3 separate regions of the Homo sapiens genome follow, and regions 2 and 3 are each linked to region 1. The links are contacts of gene promoters, found by promoter capture Hi-C in blood cells and fetal thymus (Javierre and others, 2016). All regions are on one chromosome and are shown on one strand. Each heading gives the region's core, a stretch centred on a gene start or on the middle of the fragment in contact. The rest is flanking DNA. Distances are from core to core; before and after follow the strand shown. Region 1 holds the start of ASB7 (ankyrin repeat and SOCS box containing 7). Region 2 has its middle 210 kb from the start of LYSMD4. Region 3 has its middle 180 kb from the start of LYSMD4.

The links. Contacts are between HindIII fragments. The CHiCAGO score rates a contact against its expected background, and 5 or more counts as called.
Region 2: a fragment that was not itself captured here is called in contact with the fragment with the promoter of ASB7 in region 1 in 8 of 17 cell types (naive CD4 T cells, naive B cells, total B cells and 5 more); the score reaches 11.1 in naive CD4 T cells.
Region 3: a contact is called between a fragment that was not itself captured here and the fragment with the promoter of ASB7 in region 1, in 1 of 17 cell types (naive CD8 T cells). The highest score is 5.1, in naive CD8 T cells.

Annotation. Positions count from the first base shown.
Region 1 is chr15:100,600,983-100,604,097 of GRCh38, reverse strand. It overlaps ASB7 (ankyrin repeat and SOCS box containing 7), which reads right to left and starts at 1,509. Exons shown (of 6, transcript NM_198243.3): 1 at 1,052-1,509; 2 at 785-883. It overlaps LINS1 (lines homolog 1), which reads left to right and starts at 1,914. Exons shown (of 7, transcript NM_001040616.3): 1 at 1,914-1,977. RefSeq lists silencers at 727-776, 1,227-1,486 and an enhancer at 1,657-1,996. The HindIII fragment of the contact is 6,685 bases long and covers 1-3,115 here.
Region 2 is chr15:99,939,326-99,942,259 of GRCh38, reverse strand. No RefSeq gene overlaps it. Among named protein-coding and RNA genes, the nearest start is that of LYSMD4, 210 kb to the right of the region's middle. The HindIII fragment of the contact is 2,540 bases long and covers 199-2,738 here.
Region 3 is chr15:99,908,369-99,911,313 of GRCh38, reverse strand. No RefSeq gene overlaps it. Among named protein-coding and RNA genes, the nearest start is that of LYSMD4, 180 kb to the right of the region's middle. The HindIII fragment of the contact is 6,298 bases long and covers 1-2,945 here.

The sequences.
Region 1 (3,115 bases), core at 260-2,759:
TTTTAAATTCCTGAGTCAAACGATTAATAAGATATTGTGCAAATTTTTAAAAGTTCTCCTAGAAAATCTGAGGTGTAAGAAACATTGTATCTTTATAAGTTTCAAAGCCCATCCACATTTGTCACACACAAACACACAGAAAGCCCAAAGAGTTAATTATGCCTAAGTGCTTCAGGGTAATAATGTTGTCTTCATACCATTCACACTCTTAAGGTACACAGGTTGGCTTTCTAGTAGGAAATAAAATCAAACTATTTTCTGAAACTCATAAATCTCAGGCCAATAATTTACCTTTCTCTACCAAATCGTTGTCAGTTAGATAACTCAAAAGATTTTTCTGATGCAGGTAGAAGAAAGGTGATAGGAAAGAGTAAGGGGGAAAACAGTAAATTGTGGTTTAATTAAAAAGGAAAGTCATTCAGAATTAACAAGCAATTAACAAGGAATTGAGGAATTCCTATGAGAGTAAGGAAGGGAGGGTAGCTACAAAAAGGTCTCAAAGCCTCAGAGCAGAGTAAATGGCACAGTGTACCAAAAGATAATGAAAAACACAGAAACACACTGTACAGAAAGAAAGTGGGAAAATACTGTCCTGGGTAGAGAAGTTATAAAATGTTAAGTATCAGGCACGGGTAATGTTTTTGTTTTTCCTGGGAAACTGGGGGTGGGGGTGGGGGGGGTAGGAAAGGTTGCATTCCCAGGCAACCACCCTGAAAATAAACCACTGCTTAATGAGGTAGGGGCCAGGAATAAACAACGGGGGAGGGGAGGGCTGGCTCATTACCTTTACAGACGATGCTGGTCAGAGGCACTGTGCCTTCTGCTTCTCTGATAGGTGGGCAGACCTCTTCCTGCTTTCGCGTCTTCTTCAGCCAGCTCAAACCTAGAAAAACAGAAACCAGTGAGTGGTGTAGTGTCTCAGAGGTGGGGAGGGGGGAGCTCAGGAAAGGGGCTGGAGAGTGGCAAGGGCAGGCAAGAAAAAGCAGAGATTTTCCTCCCTCCTACCCTCCCAGCCAGCACTCTTCCCCTCGGGGGAAGTAAAGGACTTTACCTGTCTCCTCAGCTGCTGCTTCTCTTCCTCCTTTCAGCCTCCTCTACACTCACCAACTTCTCCATTGAAGAAATACCCCAGGCAGGGCCGGACCCTGGTGTTCCTGATCCTCCTCGGTGCCTCACGGCCCCAGCCCGGCGAACATCCGAACAGCCGAGAAGGCAGGAGGTGGCGATCCCGGCCGCCGGGCAGCCTTGGGGCAGAGGTGCAGGGAGGCAGGGAGGAAGTCCTGGCTCGGGTGGGGGGGCAGTCCCGGTCCAGGGCTCGGAGCAGGGGGCTGCCGCGCTCCGGGCCGGAGGCTTCCAGCTACGGAGGGACCCAGGAGGTCTCGGGACGGCGAGGTCCCAGGTCATACGGGGCCCGAAGTGCCAGCCGTGGGGTCTCCGGACAGGGGGCTTTCGGGATGCACTTTGCACTGGGCCACCCCCGCCCCCTCCCTTCAGCACTTTGGGGTCACTGGGATGGGACCAAGCCTTCAACAACCAATCAGCGCCCGCAGTGGAGCCTGAGCCTGGAGCCGTAAACCAGGTCCGGGATGGGTGGGGGTGGAGGGAGTAGGGACGACTTGGTTGGTTGGTTGCTTCCTTCTCTCCTCCTTACCCCCGGCAGCCCCCACCCTCTGCCTGCCGTAAAGTTGCCTTTGCATTCGCGACAGTTAAGGGAGGCGTGCCGAACGGGGCAGAGATTCGTCTCCGATTGGTCTCACTCACTTCCCCTTACAGCTTCCCCGTGGTGGCTTCCGAGGCTCCGCCCCTGGCGGAGGGACTCAAAGCCGTTGCTAAGAGACACTATTCGCCGAAGGCGGTCTCTGCGCATGCGGGAGGAGGTGCCAGCTTGTACTTTCTGTGAACTACGGTGGCCCAGAGCGGGCATTTGTGTTCCCTCAAATGGCGGTGTGAAGAGAGTTCGCCTGAGCCAGATCCCAGGCAGGTAACCGGGACCGGCCGCCGTGCTGGCAGCAGGGGAGGCACGAGTGCGGCCAAATGAGAGCCTGGTTCAGGGCTTAAGGTTGGGAGGGCGGCAGGCTCCAGGAAGCGAGTAGAGGGGTGCCTTGTTTCTCCGCCCCTGTTCAGCGCTTGTCAGACGCAAGTGCCCGGTCTTGGCGCGGCTGTCGGTCCTTGAGACCCCGTTAGCTTCCAGGCTGGCAATGCCTCGCCTGAAGTGGGAGAACGGACTCTCTTTGGGATAGCGATGACGATCCAAGGACCTTCCTGAAAGGATAGCAACGTTGGCGGGTTCCTGTGAATGAATGGAGAGGGGTCGTGGGGAAAACGCGAGATAGACTGATCAAGACACGTTTGTTAAGCACTTTATTCATTAGCAAGTGTTTACTGGCCACTGTTCTAGTCCCTGGGGAGACAACAGTGAACAAGATAGTGATTTCGGGGAAACAAACACAAAATTATCAGATAGGGATGGGTTATATGAGGAAAATCAAGCAGAATGGTGGAATCGATTTTGACCAGGACGTGATGGGCTGTATTAGATAGGTAGTGCTATGGTGTGAATATCTGTCCCCTTCAAAACTCATGTTGAAATTTAATCCCCAATGTGGCAGTACTGAGAGGTAGAGTCTTTAAGAGGTGGTTGGACCGTGAGGGTTCTGTCTTCACGAGTGGATTGATCTATTCATGGATTAATGGGTTATCACGGAGGTAGAACTGGTGGCTTTTTAAGGAGAGACTTGACAACTCGTGAGCCTGCTCAGCCCCCTGGCCACGTGATACTTTGCGGTGCTGTCTCGTGGTCCGTCAGTCTTAGACTTCCCAGCCTCCAAAACTAGACAATAAATTACTTTTCTTTATAAATTACCGAGTTTTAGGAATTATTTTATAAGCAACAGGAAACGGACTAAGACAGATAGGAAAGGTCTCTGAGGAAGTGACATTTGAGCAGGGATCTGAATGACAAAGAGCCAGCCATGCCAAGATCTAGGGAGAGAATTTTGCCAGCAGAGAGAATTAGAAATGCAAAGCCTCTGATGCTAGAATATGCTTTGCTGTTTACAGGAACTGCCAGAAAGAAGGCTAGGGTAGCTGAAGCAGAGTGGTAGGAAAATGACTG
Region 2 (2,934 bases), core at 219-2,718, 660 kb after region 1:
AACAGCAAACTAGATCAAGGAGAAGAACGAATCTTTGAACTTGAAGATGAGTCTTTTAAAATTAGTCAGAGGAGGGAAAACAAAGAATGAAAAAGAGTGAAGACAGCTTATAGGACCTGTGGGATGCCATTAAAAGAACAAATATTTGCATTATGAAAGTTCCAGAAGGAGAAGAGACAAAGATAGAGAAAGAAAGCTTATATAATAAATTGCTGAAAACTTCATAAGCCTTGGAAGATACATGGATATTCAGATACACAAAGCTCAACTTTTCCCAAATAGATTCAACCCAAAGAAGTCCACTCTAAGACACATTATAATTAAACTATCAAAAGTCAATGACAACATTTTAAAAGCAGTAGCAGAAAAATGTCAAGTCACATAAGGGAATGCCAATTAGACCATCAGTGCATTTCTCAGCACACACCTTGTAGGGCAGGAGAGAATGGAATGACATATTCGAAGTGCTGAAAAGAAACTGCTAACTATACTGCTATACTCAGCAAAGCTGTCCTTCAGAAATAAATGAGAAATAATCTTTCCCAGACAAACAAAAGTTGAAGGAATTTATTACCACTAGACCTTCCTTACAAGAGATGTCTAAGGGAGTTCTTTAAGTGGAAATAAAAGGACACTAATAACTAACATGGAAACATATGAAAGTATAAAATTCACTGGTAAAGGTAAATATATAGTCAACTCTAGAATATTCTAATATTGTTATATATAGTTCTATAAAGTATATATAGATACAGATAGTATAAAGGTTAAAGACCAAAATAGTCAAAGAAAAAAAAGCTATATTAAGAGATACATAATATAAAATGATGTAAACTGCAACATCAGAAATATAAATGAGGGAGGGTAAAAGTCTAATGTTTTTGTATGTGACTGAAATTAAGGTGTTTTCAGTATGAAATAGTCTATAGTTTTACGTAAGCCTTATGGTAACCACAAAGAAAAAAAAAGTATAGCAGATACACAAAGTAAAGAGAAAGAAATAATAATAGTGCTACAGAAACTCATCAAATCAAAGATGAACAAGAGAGAAAGGAACAAAGGATCTACAAAACAACCAGAAAACAAAAAAGTGGCAGTAGTAAGTCCTTACCCATCAATAATTACTTTGAATGTAGTAAGTGGATTAAATTCTTTAATCAAAAGACAGAGTGGCTAAATGGATTTTTTTTTAATAATAAGGTTAAGGATATGCTGCCTACAAGAGACCCACACTAGCCTTAGGGACAAACTGACTGAAAATGAAGGGTTAAAAGATATTTCATGCAAATGATAACCAAAAGAAAGCAGTGCAGCTATAATCACAGCAGATAAAATAGACTTCAAGTCAAGAACTGCCACAAGAAAAATGCACCTACTAAAAATGCAAAAATTAGCAGGGTGTGGTGCTGCACATCTGCAATCCCAGCTACTCAGAAGGCTGAGGCAGGAGAATCACTTGAACCCAGGAGGCAGAGGTTGCAGTGAGCCAAGATCACGCCACTACACTCCAGCCTGGGTGACAGAGTGAGAGAATTCATTAAAAAAAAAAAAGAGAGAGAAGAAAGATTCCAACTAAACACTAAACATTTAGCCTAATATTATGCCCCAAGGAACTAGAGAAAGAACAGATTAAACCCAAAGTTAGCAGAAGGCAGGAAATAATAATCTGAGCAGAAATAAGCCAAATAGAGAACAGAAAAACCATAGGGAAAAATTCAATAATAAGAGTAGGCTGGGCACAGTGGCTCATGCCCATAATCCCAGCACTCTGGGAGACCTAGGAGGGTGGATCACTTGAGGTCAGGAGTTCGAGATCAGTCTGGCCAACGTGGTGAAACCCCGTCTCTACTACAAGTACAAAAATTAGCTGGGTGTAGTGGCATATGCCTGTAGTCCCAGTTACTTGGGAGCCTGAGTCAGCAGGATTGCTTGAACCCAGAAGGTGGAGGTTGCAGTAAAAAAAGATCGCACCACTGCACTCCAGCCTGGGCAACAGAGTGAGACTCCCCCTCAAAATAATAATAATAATAATAATAATAATAATAATAATAATAATAATAGGAGTTGGTTTTTTGAAAAAAAAAAAAAAAGCCCTTAGCTAGACTAAGTAAAAAGGTGAATAGACTCAAATACATAAAATAAGAAATGAAATTGGAGCTATTACAGCAGAGATTGAAGTGGTAATTTAAAATCTCCCAACAAAGAAAAGCCCAGGACCAAATGGCTTTACAGATGAATTCTACCAAACTTTCAAAGAATTAATATCAACGCTTCCTTAACACTTCCAAAAAATAGAACTGGGAGAAATACTCCCTAACACATTGTATAAGACCAACATCACCTTGATACCTAAGCCAGACTAAGACACCACAAGAAAAGAAAACTACAAGCCAATATCTCTGATAAACATTGATGTGAAAATCCACAATAAAATTTGAGGAGCAAATTGAGTTCAATAACACATCAAAAATATTGCACATCATGATCAAGTGTCATGCAAGGCTGTTTTAACTTATGCAAACCAATCAGTGTTATACATCACATTAACAGACTGAAAGACAAAAACCACATGATCATATCAACTGATGCACAAAAATCACTCAACAAAGTTCAACGTTATTTCATAATAAAAAAAACTCTTAACAGTTTAAGTATAGAAGGAAAGTTCTTCAAGATAATAAAAGCTAGTCATCAAAAAGACACAGCTAACATCATAAACAATGGGGAGAAACAAAGCTTTTTCCTCTCAAATCTGGTACAGGGCAAGGAAGCCCACTCTCACCACTTCTTTTCAGCATAGTACTGGAAGTTCTATCAAGAGCAATTAGACAAGAAAAAAATAATAAAAAGATACCCAAATCAAAAAGGAAGAAGTAAACTTATCTCTATTTGAAGATGGCATAATCCTATATGTAGAAAATGCCAAAGAGTCCA
Region 3 (2,945 bases), core at 283-2,782, 690 kb after region 1:
TAACATTTCAGAGGTGTTAGGATTGATCAGTGTTACTGCTTTGTGAAAGGAAAATAACATCTCAGGATTCCATTTCACTAAGCCGAAAGGAAAAAAAATAAGCTGAAGGCTGGGCCGTGCAAGAAACTGCCTTTCCTTCTGTTCGTAAGCAGATTGCTACAGATGAAAGGCCAGATATCTCCACAGGTAGCTACTCTATGTTCACTTTATCTTGGGTAAAGTGCTAATTTACTGACCACAAAATGAATACATGTTGCCGGGTGTGGTGGCTCACAACTGTAGTCCCAGCACTTTGGGAGGCCAAGGCGGGTGGACTGCCTGAGCTCAGGAGTTCGAGACCAGCCTGGGCAACACAGTGAAACCCTGTCTCTACTAAAATACAAAAAATTGGCAGGGCATGGTGGCATTCGCTTGGAATCCCAGCTACTCAGGAGGCAGAGACAGGAGAATCGCTTGAACCTGGGAAGCGGAGGTTGCAGTGAGCCGAGATTACGCCAGTGCACTCCAGCCTGGGCGACAGAGTGAGACTCCATCTCAAAAAAAATAAAAAGAAAGAAAAATTGAACACATTTTTGACCATTCCCCTACCTGTTTCTTTCTTGCAACATGTGGATTCAGTAATGCAACTGTCCCCTCCCTCGTTCCCCTCCAGCCCGCTTTTCCCCTTTAAATACTGAAGCCCTCAAAATCATCTTTGGAAAAAGTCACGGATCACAGATTGTTCCTGTGGTTTTGTGTGCCTTTTTTCCAAGCATGTCCTTAACTTGGCAAAATAAACTTCTAAATTGATTGAGACCTGTCTCAGATATTTTTGGGTTTACAGCTTACAGATGTGAATCACTTGCCAAAGACACTGGCATTTAGCGAGCTCTCCTAGGCTGTAACCAGTATGTCAAACGTGAAGATTATTGTGTGTGATCGTTTGGATTCCTTGTTATGATGTATTTTATAAATGCACTAGTTATATCTTTGCTGATGTATTTTTGCTGATCTTTCGTAAGGTGGAACTTTTGTCTAAATGGTATATATTAAACTGTATTGAGTGTTACAAAACCAATATTCTATGGAGAATGAAAAAATAATGGACTAAATTAACTAGGGGGAGGAAAAGCACGAGTCCTGGGTTGCAAGGACCAAGTGAGGCATGGGCGGAGCAGGTTGTATTCGGCAGGCCCAGAAGAGGGAGCCCCACGACCTGTCTGCCTGTCCCTCTCGCTCTCCTCCAAGACAGACTGCCCTTGAGTTTCCACTTGACCACACTAGATTAGGTTTCTAAAGCAATGTGCTCAGGACTTTTCTTCATTCCCTCCTCCACCCTTAGAGAAGCAGACTCCAGCCAGCAAAGTAAAAAAAAACCTCAACCCCAAGTGTTGTGTATTCGGATCTCCAGAAACAACCAAACAAACAAACAAACACCACTTCAGGCATCAGGGGAATAAAATGGAGAGAACTCGGAGGGCGGCCCAGTTGAGGGCAGACATGGTCCCATAAAAGGCATCCCTGGGCAGGGGGCCGGGGGCCTGGGAGGATGGAGACACCTGAACCTCATGCTTGGAAAAAATGAGAAATAGCTCTTGATAGAGGGGCCAGAGCGTGGAGCAGGGCGGGCTGGGGGGGGCCTGACCTACGCAACAGGAAGCGGCCTGCCCACCCTCTCCACTGCCATGCTCCCCAGCACAGGTGGAAAGGAAAAGGGCTACAGAGTCTGCAGATTCTTTGTTTTTTAAAAGCCCAAGCAGCTTATTTTAAGTCAATAATGCCATGGCCTCAGAGCAAAGCAGACACTGCAGGTACAGCACTGGGAACACCAGGGGCCTGTATTCCAGGGGAAACCTGGAGCCTGGGAGGCACATTTCATGGGCAGAGGTGGGAAGGAGTCACCTGGGGCTGATTTCCATGGACCTGTGAGCCCTGAGCCCTCAGGCCTGGCTGGCTTTTTGTGGGAGCACAGCGCTTCCAGGAGCCAGCCAGCGAGGGGGCCTGCAGCCCTGCAACCCAAGCCCAGTGTGCAACAAGCAGCCAGAGGGCTCACTCTCAGAATGGGGGCTCAGCTGACCCGTCCCAGGACAGACAGCGGGCCTGTCACCGATCACGCTGTTGCGGTGGCAAAGTATTGTAAGGCCAAAGATTTGGAGCTCTGGGCCAGACTGCTGGCTTTGAATCCTGACTTAGACCTCTACTGTGTGACCCCAGGCGGGTTACTTCACTTTTCTGTGTCTCAGTTTCCTCCTCTGTAAAATAGGGGTGAAAATATGGGTCGCAATTTCTTGTTTACAATTCCAAAATCCAAAAAGCTCCAAAGAAATGATACATAAACACACACATACATACATATACACAGCCTCTTCAACTTAAGATAGGGTTACATCCACATAAACTCATTGTAAGTTGAAATGATTGTTAAGTTGAAAATGAATTTAATACACCTAACCTACCAAACATCATAGCTGAGCCTAGCCTACCTTAAACGCGCTCGGAACACTGACATTAGCCTACAGCTGGACAAAATCATCTGGCAAGGCAGTCCACTGTGGAGTATCAGTTCTTTTTTTTTTTTTTTTTTTGAGATGGAGTCTTGCTCTGTCTCCAGGCTGGAGTGCAGTGGCGCAATCTCGGCTTACTGCAACCTCCACCTCCCAGGTTCAAATGATTCTCCTGCCTCAGCCTCCCGAGTAGCTGGGACTACAGGCACATGCCACCATGCCCAGCTAATTTTTGTATTTCTTTAGTAGAGATGGGGTTTCACCATGTTGGACAGGATGGTCTTGATCTTTTGACGTCGTGATCCACCCGCCTCGGCCTCCCAAAGTGCTGGGACTACAGGCATGAGCCATCCCGCCCGGCCGCAGTATCAGTTCTTTACCCTCCTACTTGAGTGACCGACTGGGAGCTGTAGCCACTGCAGCTGGCCAGCATTGCAAGACGGTCTTGTACCACACATGGCT